Regions from separate parts of the Homo sapiens genome. Here region 1 is linked to region 2. The links are contacts of gene promoters, found by promoter capture Hi-C in human tissues and cell types (Jung and others, 2019). All regions are on one chromosome and are shown on one strand. The core of a region is centred on a gene start or on the middle of the fragment in contact, and the rest is flanking DNA. Distances in the headings are between cores, read along the strand shown. Region 1 holds the start of LOC105378012 (a long non-coding RNA gene). Region 2 holds the start of PDE7B (phosphodiesterase 7B).

Region 1 (5,789 bases), core at 877-3,376, 45 kb before region 2:
TTGATGAGAGCCTGTCACCATTATGACCTCGCTTAACCTTAATTTCTTCCTTAGAGGTCTCATCTCCAAACAACCACACAGGGGATTAGGGCTTCAACATATGAATTTTGGGGAGATACAAACATTTTGTCCATAGCAGTCATAAAAATGTCAGTTTGGATTAACTCTAAAATAAATAATGCATTGTTTTACTTAGTAAGAAAGAACCAATCTCTGATTCTCAAAGCTTGGGTTCTCATCAGCAACCGAGGCCATTGAGTCAAATAGAAATAATTACACATTCAAGATGTTATCTAAATATGATACAAATTGAATATTAGCGTAACCTACTGACAGAAGCTTGCCTTGTTAACAGTACTTACTTACAAAAAAAAAATTTGAGTGTCTTCTATGCAATACCCAATATATTAGGAACTGTTATTAAATGAGGTATAATGATATGATAACAACAAGCCATATGGTTACAGACATACTTCACTAGCTGTTCTGCAGGATGAGCATGAACAGTAGCGTTGTATAAACAATTTAGCATTGCCAAAATGAAGTAGTGATTTGAAGTGATTGTATGGATATATCAAAATAAAACTTGCTAAATGGAGTAAGACAGGTTTTAGCATGAATTAACGACATAATTATTTCAGCTTATACTTTAGCTACCAAGTCCTGGCATAGGTGTAATAGGATAGAGTGCTAGGAAGCACAAGCCTCTAAAAGTGAGAACTCAGATGTTCAAACACAGAAACCCAACAAGCCTGAAAAATATTGCCCTACGAGAAATTAGAACTCCAAAGAGTTGCTTTCCAAAGTTAAAATTTCTGTGGTACAACATTTTCATTCTCATGAAAATGATAACTTCTTAGAATGGATACCAAAAAATAGCAACTGGGCACAGCTGGATGGCTGCCTGGTCTTTAGTGCAAGAGTCCTGATGTTTTTCAGACAAGAGGCCAGTTGTTATTGAGTTTCAGAGAGAAAGAATTATTTAGTGCAGGTATACTCCTTACCCATTTGTGTATATGCACGTTTTATGTATAGCTCTGTTCTATAACTGAGAGCTTATGACAGAGAGTCATAAGTCTCTTGAAGAAGCAGGAAGAAGAAATGATAAAAGGGAAGCCAAGGAAAGCCCTGCCTGACAAATAGAACACCTGTCAGGTCAACGTTCCATGGGATCTAACAGTACACACTGGTGCAGGCCCAATTAGCTAGGCAAATGATTTAGGTATTAAAGGGACATAAGTCATGAGAACAGAGTGTTGGTCAAAGTCAAGTTTAAAAAGTGAGACTTTCCTTCACTAATGAAATATTTCCTAATAAATTTCCTAATAAAATATTTCCTAATGAAAAAGGTAAAGGGTATTAAGAATCTTTGTTTTTATTTATTTATGTATTAGAGACAGGGTCTCACTCTGTCACCTAGGCTGCAGTGTAGTGGTGCAATCACAGCTCACTGCAGCCTCAAACTCCTGGGCTCAAGCAATCTTCCTGCCTCAGTCTCCCAAGTAGCTAGGATTACAGGCACACATTAGCACTCCTGGTTAATTTATTTATTAATTTTTTTTTTTTTTTTGCAAGTACAGGGTCTACTTATGTTGCCCAGGCTGGTCTTAAACTCCTGGCCTCAAGCAAGCCTCCTGCCTTGGCCTTCAAAAGCACTGGAATTACAGCCATAAGTCACTACACCCAGTCAAGAATCTTTTCAAACTGATACCCGTTACAAGGAATTTTAACCACTTGGACTGCCAGTCTGATAAAACTTCTGTAACAGCACTAGCATGTGAATTTTTGTTTGTTTTTTAAACAGAGCTTTAGTTACGTAGATCTGAAGGAACGAGATCTGTAGAAAAGCCATTTGATCCAGCACTCAAATAACAGTTCTTGACGGAAAGAATGAAGTTCTAAACTATAATTATTAGCCAAAATGTCATTATACATTTTAAAAATCCCATCTTTCCAGACAAAATAGTTGGAAAAAAAGAAATGAATCCAATAAAGCATTGTCTCTAAAAAATTCATTGGTACTGCTAGCATGATTTTTAACATAATTCATTTAAGATTTTATAATAGGTAAACTGGACATAGGAATGCTGCCATGTTTATAGGCCGCTCAATAGGAAAGATGAAACTCATCAACAAAGGCAGACATATTGCAGCCACCTAACCTTGTCTGCCACATAATAGTTTCCCTATAAAGATTTGTTGATGCATTGACTGCTTGGTTTAAAGGCCCTAATAGTACAGCATTAATTTCTTATGAAGTACTTTCTAATATCTTGCATTTAAGTTTTAAGTGTAACCTTTGCTATATTATGGGACTGACTCTTTTATTGCATTAAAACTAACGGATGCATATTGAGTAATTAGCTTTGCCTTTCTTTCTATACTTTCTCTTAAATCTTTATAAGGGATAGCACGGGAACTATATTTTTATCTCCAAGTTTGCCTCCAAGTCCAGCTGTGTAGTGAAAGGGCAGCAGGAAACTTCATGAAGTATGCCTTCAGCTCAGAGTCAGAACCCGCATTCAGAACTTTGCTGGGGATGAGAGAAAGGTCAAACCTGTGGGTTAAAAGAGAAAGAGAGAGAGATGAGAAATTTACAGATTTTTATGAAGAAAGCTACAATAATTTGTGCTCTGGACACAGACGGACTTGGGTTAGGGTCCTGGCTGTACCACTTAACCTACATAGGCTTAGTTTCTATATTAATAAAGCAGGGCTGATGGTGAATATAAAGATTTTAAAGGCTCTAGAATATAGCAGGCACTCAAAAAATGTTACAGTTATTATTCCAAAGAACATTTGGTGACATAAAAACATGAGGATAAATATCATCCAGGAAAAATGGAAGATTCTGCGTAGGTGATAGTCCAAACACCATTCAGAAAGCCAGTGCATGGGCAAATTGCTTTGGAGCCACAAAAAGCTAGGAATTAATGACGTCTTGGGCTTCAAGGAAATAGTGGGGAGCTGATCTCCCACAGGTGTGGGAGCCTATCCAAACTCTCTGTTTTCCTCCGTGTCCTCTGACTGATGCCCAAATCCAACCTGGATGACTTGTCACACCTGTGACACTAGCACCCACCCAACTCTGATACTCACCAGTTTAGCAAGGCCCTCTTCCATGTTCAGGTACCTAAACTCCAGACCCCTTGGGACACACTGACTTATACTTTGGGGCACTTTGTCCCACTGGAAGAATATGGGAGTAGGGAGAATAGAGAACAATGGTAAGAGAAGCTTACTCTCCCAGCCTCATCATCTCCGGCTTTCTCTATCACTGAACCCTTTCCTCATAGACTCTCCAGGTCTCATGAGCTTGATTAGGCGACTCATGAAAAATTCTCATTACTGAAGCCTGAGATTTCTCCTTTGCCTGCCAGTCACCCTCTGTCTCTCCAGAGTCAGAACGTTTGCAATTTCCATCTCAATGATTATTTTAACAAGTGAATTAGGTTTGTTGCCCACTCTGTAGATTTAGGAAGGACCCTTATCTATGAGTGATTTCGGTCTCACATCCCAAAAGTCCACATTTCTACTTCAGCAGGCCACATCATGTTTGTTCCATGGTTCAGAATATCTGAACTTTTAGTTTAGAACTGGCTGGTGGGGACCTGGAGTTCATGCAGGCAGTCTGCTCTGGAGTCTGCGTCCTTATTCCCATTCTAGTCCACATCCCTCTAACTAGAGTGGATGGGGAGGGGAGAGGAATGGAACAAAAAAGGTAGGTTAAAGTTGGATTGAATAGAATCTTGAAAGCTAAACCAAAGAATTAGAATCTTACTATGTAGGCAGTCGGAATTCAGAGAGATTAAACAAAGTGGTTTTTGAGGAATAGTAATTGGTTGGCAGAACACAGGATTGAATAGAATAAGGAAGATATTAAAAGATTAAGAGACTGTTTAGAAGGTATTACATTAATCTAGGTTTAACAAGATGAAAACTCAGCCTAGGAGGTAACATTGGGAACTAAAAAGAAGTGATGGGCATGAGCCAGTTAACATCAGCATGACCTGGTGGGTGATTGGAGTGGAGAGTAAAAGCGATAAGTCTGGTTTTAAGAGTAGATGATGAGGAGATCTAATTACATACACACACCCATAACTAAGGAGTTGTATCTGATAAATTATTTAATCTGAACCTAAATATTTTTATTCCTTAATTTAAACCTCCTCCCTTTTTTATCTTCAGCTTAAACATTGCTGTTTAAATCCTCCTTAACACTTTACGCTTAAGACTAAATGATCCTGATATTGTTTTTTCTCATTCCTCCACTTCTTAAATACATATATATATATATGCTAATTAATGGGCAGAGTTGGTATGCATGTACTGTCTATATCTCTATAGGTGAAAGCAAAAAACGGATTCTGGAGATAAAAATAAGAATGATAGCTCTCCTTTATTGAACACTTATTATGTACCTACTTCTGTGCTGAGCTGCTCATATGTATTATCTATTGAATGCCCATAACAACCCTAAGAAATAGATACCATTATTGTCTTCATTTGCCCAGGAGGAGGCTGAGGCTTGGAGGAGTATAAGAACTTGCTGACAGTCATAACATCTGAAGGGGATTAGAATATGTCACGCCAAAATATGCCACTTTGGCATAATAATTATTTTAAGTTGAAGGCAATTGAGAAAAAGCAGACACAAGAAGAGCTCTTTTCCCTCCCCTATCTGCCTAAACATAGGGCATAAAGCTTTCTTGTGAAAGTATTTCCCCACCTTCCATATCAGGAAAGGGATAACAAACTGTACCACTGGAAATGGAGACAGCACCTAAATAAGTCTGTATAGACAAACCTTACTACATAACCTTTATCTAGCAGTTAATTTCCCCCATATATTTACCTTCCCACAATTTGCCACTCCTAGAAAGCCAAGCCCCTTTCTTTTGTGTAGTCACTTCTCCATAATTTATCACTCTTTGTTAAAATGGTGTATAAGGCCAAGTCTAGTCACTTCTTTGGGCTGTTTCCTTCTGTTTCTTCAAAGCCCATGTACATGTACAAAGATTAACATCCAGTAAATTTTGCATGCTTTTCTTCTGTTAATCTGTCTTCTATTAATTTAATTCACAGGCCCCAACTACAGAAGATAAGAGGGCATAGGAAAAGTTTTTCCTCTCTACAAGCCAAAAGTCGCAAGGCTAATATTTACTCCCCTGATTCTCTCCTCCAGAGCCCACACCCTTCATCACTACTGATAAAGGTATGATAATGAATTCTAAATTCCTTTCTTAAAATCTGCTAATTGGGTAAAGAAGTAAAGAAAAGTTTGATATTCTCCTCCATATAATGGCTTATTTATAGCTATAACTTACTTGTCAAATACAAATGCTACCGTGGTACTATTTATGTGACACGTGATCCAAAGACTGTTACCACACACTACACTAAAACATGGATATGACATATTTCCTGTGAAGAAGAATTTGGTATGATTTAGAAAATCTTGAATCATATTCAATAACTTAATTTTTTATCCAGGATATAAACATATAATTGTTTCAAGGTATAAACTCCTGTACAGAATGTCAGTGTATTATGGCACACCCCATAAAGAGACTGTAAAAAACAATTATAGTTTTATGCTCAATTAAAGAGACGGAAATTTTTAAAAGGGGCTATGTCAATCAGAAAGAAAAGTACCTAGGGCTCATTAATTTAAAGACAGTAATTGATACGCTGGCTTCAGGAGTGTTTTTCATATTATCATTAATCAACTCTTCATTTGAAAAACACACACGAGGGAATTACTGAAAGAGTAGGTATCACATTTAATT
Region 2 (6,352 bases), core at 2,810-5,309:
CTGTTTCCAAGTTCATTCAAGTTGTTGGCAAATCCAGTTCCTTGCAGTTGTAGGACTTAGGTGGCTATTTTCTTGCTAGCTGTTAGTTGGGGGTTCACTCTTTGCTAGTAGAGATCTCTTTTGCATCCTTGCACACGGGCTCACAACTCAGAGACAGCAGCATCGTGTGAATTCTTCTCAAACTTGGAACTTCTATGATGTCTGCTGCATCTCTCTTCTGCTTCCAGCCAGAAAAATCTCTCTGCTTTTAAGGGTTCATGTGATTAGATTGGGCACACTCAGAAAACCCAGGATAAAATCTCCCTACTTTAAGATTCATAACCTCAATTAAATCTGCAAAGTCCCTTTTGCCATGCAATTAACATGTCCCCACGTTCCAGGAATTAGAGTGTGGACTTACCTGGAGGGCATGTAGCCTACCACAAATTTGATTTGTGCCCCAGAAATTTGCTCCCTCTCTTCCGCATCACCAATTATTCCCCTTAACTGCATTTTTTCCATCAGTGTACAACATGCTGATATTCCTTTTCAATGACTGCTCCATTTCTCTGCTCTCTTTGGGGCAAAACACCTTGAAATAATTGCCTATACTCTTTGTTCCCAATTCTTCTTTCGTTTTTCTTAACCTTTCAACTTTCTACTACACTCAACCTTCTTTTGTTAAAGACACAAATGATTACACATTCTAAGTTTAAGGGTCAATTTTCAATCTTCATTTAAGTGTCATTTTACACAGCTGATCATTGAAATAGTTAATTTACCTTCTAAGGCACCATTCTCTCTTGGTTTTTCTTATACTTTCTGGAGGCTCCTTGTCAGCCTTCCTTGCTAGTCCTTCTTTATATTCTTGACAGCATAATCGTGGACTGCCTGCAGCTCTTCCATCTGCATTCATTCCCTTGGTAATTGTATCTAGTTTCATGGCTTTAAGTTCTACAGGTATACAATGACTTCCAAATTTATATCTACAGCCCAGAACTGTACCCTAAACTGCATGCTTATATATTCCACTGCCTAGTCAACATCTCCATGTAGATATCTTACAGGCAAGGTTAACAAATTCAATATCAAACTTCATCTTCCCCACAAAACCTGCTTCTCCCGCCATCCCTTGGTCAGTGCTAGCTCTGTTCTTCTACTTGATGGAACCCCAAATTTTGGAGATGTCATTGGCTCCTCTCACTAATCTCCCTCCTTTGTACTTAGCACCCAATCCATTTAACAAGTCTTATTGTCCTTAACACCAACATATAATTGGAAGTAAACCACTTCTAGCCACCTCCACCAAAGCATCGTGGTAGACACCACTAGGATGTCTGGCTTGTTTATTGCAATATATCGTTTATTAGACTCTCTTCTACCTTGACCTCCACATGGTAGCCAGAGCGATCCTGTCAAAAAGTAAGTCAGATTGCCTCATTCCTCTCCTTAAAGCCCTGTTTCATGCAGACAGGAAGCCAAAGTCCTTACAATGACCTAGAAAACTCTCCTTGATCTGTCACCTCTGCACCCATTGCCATATCCTACTACTTACCAGCCAAATACTCCAGTCCCCAGAGCCTTGCACTTAATGTCCTCTTGTTTAAAATGCTCTCCCTATGCCTCCCTCATCAACTTCCCCTTTGTGTCCAACATCATCTTTGCAGTGGCACCTTCTCTGCATACTCACTTTAAAATTGCAAGCCTCTATCTGACTAGTGACCCTTCCCTCTCCTGTTTCTTCTTCACAACAGTATTACCACCCGATATCCTATATAAATTTTTTATTTGTTGTTATGGCCATTCTCCTTTCAGAAGAATCTAAGTTTCGTGGGGTCAAAGAATTACGTGTTGGAGGGTGTGTATGTGTGTTATATGTTTTCACTGCATTCTCCCCAGCACCTAGAACAGTGCCTGGTACAGAGTACACAATCAAATATCTGTTGCTGTTCAGTGAAGGTCCAGAACTGTTATTTATTTCACCTCAAAACCAGGCTCTTCTCCCAGTCTTCCCCATGTCAGTAAATGGCAACTCTAGTCCAGTTTGCCCAAGCCAGGAACCTGGAAATTACTCTTGATTCCTCTCTTTTTCTCACACCTCTCATCTTCAAATACTGCCAACGCTCTCTGCAAATACACAGGCCCCCTTCCAAAATCTGGCCCTCCCACCTTCTCCACTGCTCTCACCCAAGTCCGAGCCATGATGTGCTCTCACTTAGGTTAGCACAGTGGCCTCATTTATTGGTCTCTCTGCTTCTACTCTTGCTCCCTAGGAGTCTATCTTCCACAGAGAAAAGAGAGAAATCTCTTCAGAATTCGTGTCGAATCATAGACATTCCTCAGTTCAAAACACTCTGATAGGTAGGTTTTCACCTTGGAATAAAATCTAAGTCGTGTGCATGGCCTGTAAGACATGTCCTGATCTTGTCCCAGACATACCTTCTGAAACTTATTTCTTCCCTTTGCTCATTCTCTTCCAGCCACTCTATTTCCCTTCCTGTTCCTTGGCTCTGCCAAGCACTCATGTGTTGTGGGACCTTTCCATGGCTTCATCTGCATGGAAGGTAGAGGCACACAGTACCTGCTATGTCCCATCATTCGGGCCTCCGCTCCAAGTTGCTTTATCAGAGGGCTGCCCTGATCATCTTTCCTAAAATAGCACACACACCACACACACACACATGCACGTGTACACACACACCTCATTCTCCTTACCTTATTTTGAAGCCCTCATTGCCAACTGACATTATACGTTTACTTATTTTTCTTTGACAATTTCCCTGCTTCTCCAAAATGTAGACTCCATGGGGGCAAAGAACCATCTGTTTTGTTCACTATTGTAGCTTCAACACCAAAGATAAACCCCAACAACTACAGGGATGCTTAATCCTAGCGCCTAGGCTCTTAGGGATACATAAATACTTTCTTTCTCAAAGAAACAATATTAGTATTTGAAAAAGGAATGTGGACATTCTTTAGTGTTGCGCCCACCCCTAAAACATAGTCTGCCTCGGAGCAATGGAGAAATCTGATTGGCCCCTGTGGGTCCCATGCCCCCTTGTGGCTCTGTCGTGGGAATGGGGCTGGGGGCAAAGTCCATGCAATCCATAGAAGATAGAGGAAGGAAAGTTCCGCCCACCGCCCACCCAAAAAAGGTCTGTTAGCAGAATTTAGGATGGGGATGGGGAAAAGGAGGAGGATGTGGGGGAGGCAGAAACAACAGATGGCAACTATGGGGATTTTTCCAGAGTGGGAAGTGTAACCCAGGGATAAGCTGGGGTCCCTGGTAAAGGAAGTATCCCTAAATAACTGGACCTTCATACTCTTTGGGAAAGAACAAGCTGAGGCCCCAGGCACACCTGCATGGCATCACCATAGCCTTGCTTCTTGAATGACTCCTGCTGGCATCAGGAGGCATCTCCCTGGCAGGAACAAGCCTGAGGCTTCACCACGGAAGCTGGAGGAAACGCAGGGACCCATGGCACAAACTGACACAGGAGTTCTATGTTTCATTGCACATCATTTTGTTCACCAGTGCATTTGTACGATTCTGCCTCTATGGCTATCAAGTTTAATTAACAACTCATTTTTAGGTAAGAGTAAAAATGAATTAGGTAAAAAAAAATAAGCAACAGCTGCCAAGTGAGCATGGAGCACATACACTCACAGATGGAAAAAATCTACATCTTGCTGCTATGATTTAGCTCAGGGTTTTATATTTAATTTTTGTTTTGTTTTGCTTTTGTTTTTATACACCTCACCACAAGGTATTTTAAATTCTTTAAATGTATTCCCGAATATAGAAAATGTTTCTTGGGCTCTCCTGAGAGTGGGGTGCCCAGGCTGACCACAGGCACACACACATTCTTCCCATAGTACAGTACTTTAAAATTAATAGCACATGCAGAGGAAAAACTAAACCCTTTGACGTCACTCTTGAAATGAGGAAACATAAACAGAAAAGGCTCCACTCCAGTAAGCTGCCAGAGTTGAAGCCGATTGGTCTCTGCTTTTCCTTGCCTGTGGCAACTGACAGCACCTCCCAGCCTAGCAGGCCGGCGGCTGCTCACCCAGCCAGTCAGTTGGTCTGGGCACTGCAGCAGGCTCGGCTCTGTCCCAGCACTTGTCTGGGAGAAAAGTGGTGTTACTCACCCAGGGAGAGTCTCTCTTTCTACCTTCCTTCTTTCTCGATCTCCTTGTGTGCTTTTGTGTTTCTTTATTTCTTTTCCTTTTTTTTCTTTTTTTTTTTTTGTTACTTAATTATATTCCTAATCCTGGATGAAGTTGCTGGATTCTGCAGCACAAGTCTTCATGAACAAGCAGCACCGCTCAGAGATTTCACGGCATTCAAAGGTCACAGAACTGCCACTATGGTTAAATGTCTTGTTTAATGGTTGAGGTATGTACAACAAATTTAAGCGGCAAGCTCAGTTTTCTTGAGAGAATAGAGTCACAGAGAGATGGCAGGATTTTTATTTAAAATGAACCTGTACATATATATGTTTTTTGTCTGTGATTGTTACTACAGCAACCAGCTTTTGAATTTCCTTCCTTTTTCTAGGCGAACTGACTAAACATTATCACTTACCCTGAATTAACCGTTTAAGGGCAGCAGGGTTTCATTCCAACCAGTGTAATGAGACTCCGGCATTTTCACTGCACTTTGAGCCCACACTGAGGTGGTCTTTAAAAAAAAAAATAAAGAATGCAATATTTTTTTTCTCCAACATAAATCTTGGAGTTGGGTAATTTTCATTTTTGGTGGGACAGGATAGGAAAATGCTGGTAAAGGGATTGGTAAGGTTTGTGGAACAGGGAAGAAGGAAATTAGTTTTTTTCTTGAGTTTTTCATGTTGGTTGATAGCAGACTTCAAGATGAAGAAATTAGTGGCAAGAAGGGAAGAAGCTGATAGTGAGACTGAAGGTAGAAAAAAATCAATAGAAGATGTCCAAAAAATGAGCTCTGAAGAAAAATCCTTCATCACCTTGTTGCATTTTTCAAAAAATGTTTTGGATTCAGAAGTCCAGGAGAGATGCAAGTACTAAGTTACATGACCAGAAATTTAGATATTATTATTTATAAAGGAAAGTAAAACTTCTTTATTACCACTGCAAATTTGCTAATTATCTTTTCCTACAATAGTTGAAAATGGAGTCAGATATTCAATTAGGGGCTTAAGTGATTGAGCCTGGGGACTAATTAATCATTTAAAAATTCTGTTCTTCATGTGCTCTAGCCAGAGTGACTATTGCAATAAGAGTAAACCTCTTTGCACCAGAGACAGGCATAGGCATTCATATACAGTAAACACACTAAATGCTGCAGGAAGATTGGCAATTCAATACAGGGCTAATGTTGTTTTCAGTGGCACATTATTATGTCTTAAGGAGGATCCCTGCTAAAAATCATTCCTATCCAAAGAGTCGGTTTTTGTAACAGCAATTTAAGTAATATATGGTTACCATGGATTTCCCTATTACCCTTCTCAAAGTTATGCAATAGCAAATAAGACAGGATTATTTGAAATCCTTACCCTGTTCCAAAATTTCTAACCGATTTTCTTAAAGTTTCTATTCTCAACATTGAGAACCTGAAAGCTTTAAAACTGGGTCATGTTAGCAGTAATATTAAGCACGATTTCAAACATGAGGTGTATTTCAAAGGGTTAAAAAAATTAACTGCATAAGACTGGAATGTACTAAGTTAAGAACTGCAAAAATATTAGCTCTGAAATGCAGAGGATGTGCCGTGAATGGACAATTGCTTTTCTGCAGCGCCTAGTGGGAAAACAAGGACTTTGTGTGTTGCAAACGCATAACTGCAGCTCCTCCATTTCCTCTGCTTTATCTTTTATTACTGGCTGGTGAAACAAAGACAGGTGTCAGTAGTTACGTCTTGATTGACATTTTCTCCAATAAAATGAAGTCACTTTTGTCTCAAGTAGAAGCCCACAGTTAACTAGTTGCAACTCCAAAAACTGTCTCTGCCTTGTAAGAATTTTTACCTGACACTGTAAGCTGTCTAATTTCAGAATGTACTCACTCTCTTGAACAACATGTGACAAAATCAGTGGTGACTATATGTCAGCAAATTAGCTGGGAGAATTTTTTTTTTTAATTAAGTTATTTAGGGCAAGGGTGGAAAAGTCTAAGATGTGTCAGGGACAGGCATTAATTTAGGGAAAATAATTACACGAGTGCATCATTTAATGCCTTACACAGGGTTCAGCACAAAGCTACTCACTGTCAGTTCTCCATAAAAACCTAGTTAAAATGTTTGCCTAGAATTTACTACCTTTCATATATTGTAAATTATTTAAATAATTTTGGTCTTTTCATGTGTTTTTGAAAAGCACTTTTGGTGTCAGTCCAG

What was found. The method cuts DNA at HindIII sites, captures the fragments that hold promoters and counts their contacts. A contact is called where the count stands out against the background at its distance.
Region 1: a contact is called between a fragment that was not itself captured here and the fragment with the promoter of PDE7B in region 2, in 1 of the 25 tissues and cell types used here (mesenchymal stem cells).

The regions. Positions count from the first base shown.
Region 1 is chr6:135,804,762-135,810,550 of GRCh38, forward strand. It overlaps LOC105378012 (a long non-coding RNA gene), which reads right to left and starts at 1,410. Exons shown (of 3, transcript XR_943034.3): 1 at 1-1,410. LOC101928326 (a long non-coding RNA gene) reads right to left here and starts at 5,096. Exons shown (of 2, transcript XR_245604.4): 1 at 3,100-5,096; 2 at 2,384-2,557. The HindIII fragment of the contact is 3,688 bases long and covers 283-3,970 here.
Region 2 is chr6:135,847,642-135,853,993 of GRCh38, forward strand. PDE7B (phosphodiesterase 7B) reads left to right here and starts at 4,060. Exons shown (of 13, transcript NM_018945.4): 1 at 4,060-4,378. The coding sequence starts at 4,358. RefSeq lists a silencer at 3,847-4,084. The HindIII fragment of the contact is 14,106 bases long and covers 1-6,352 here.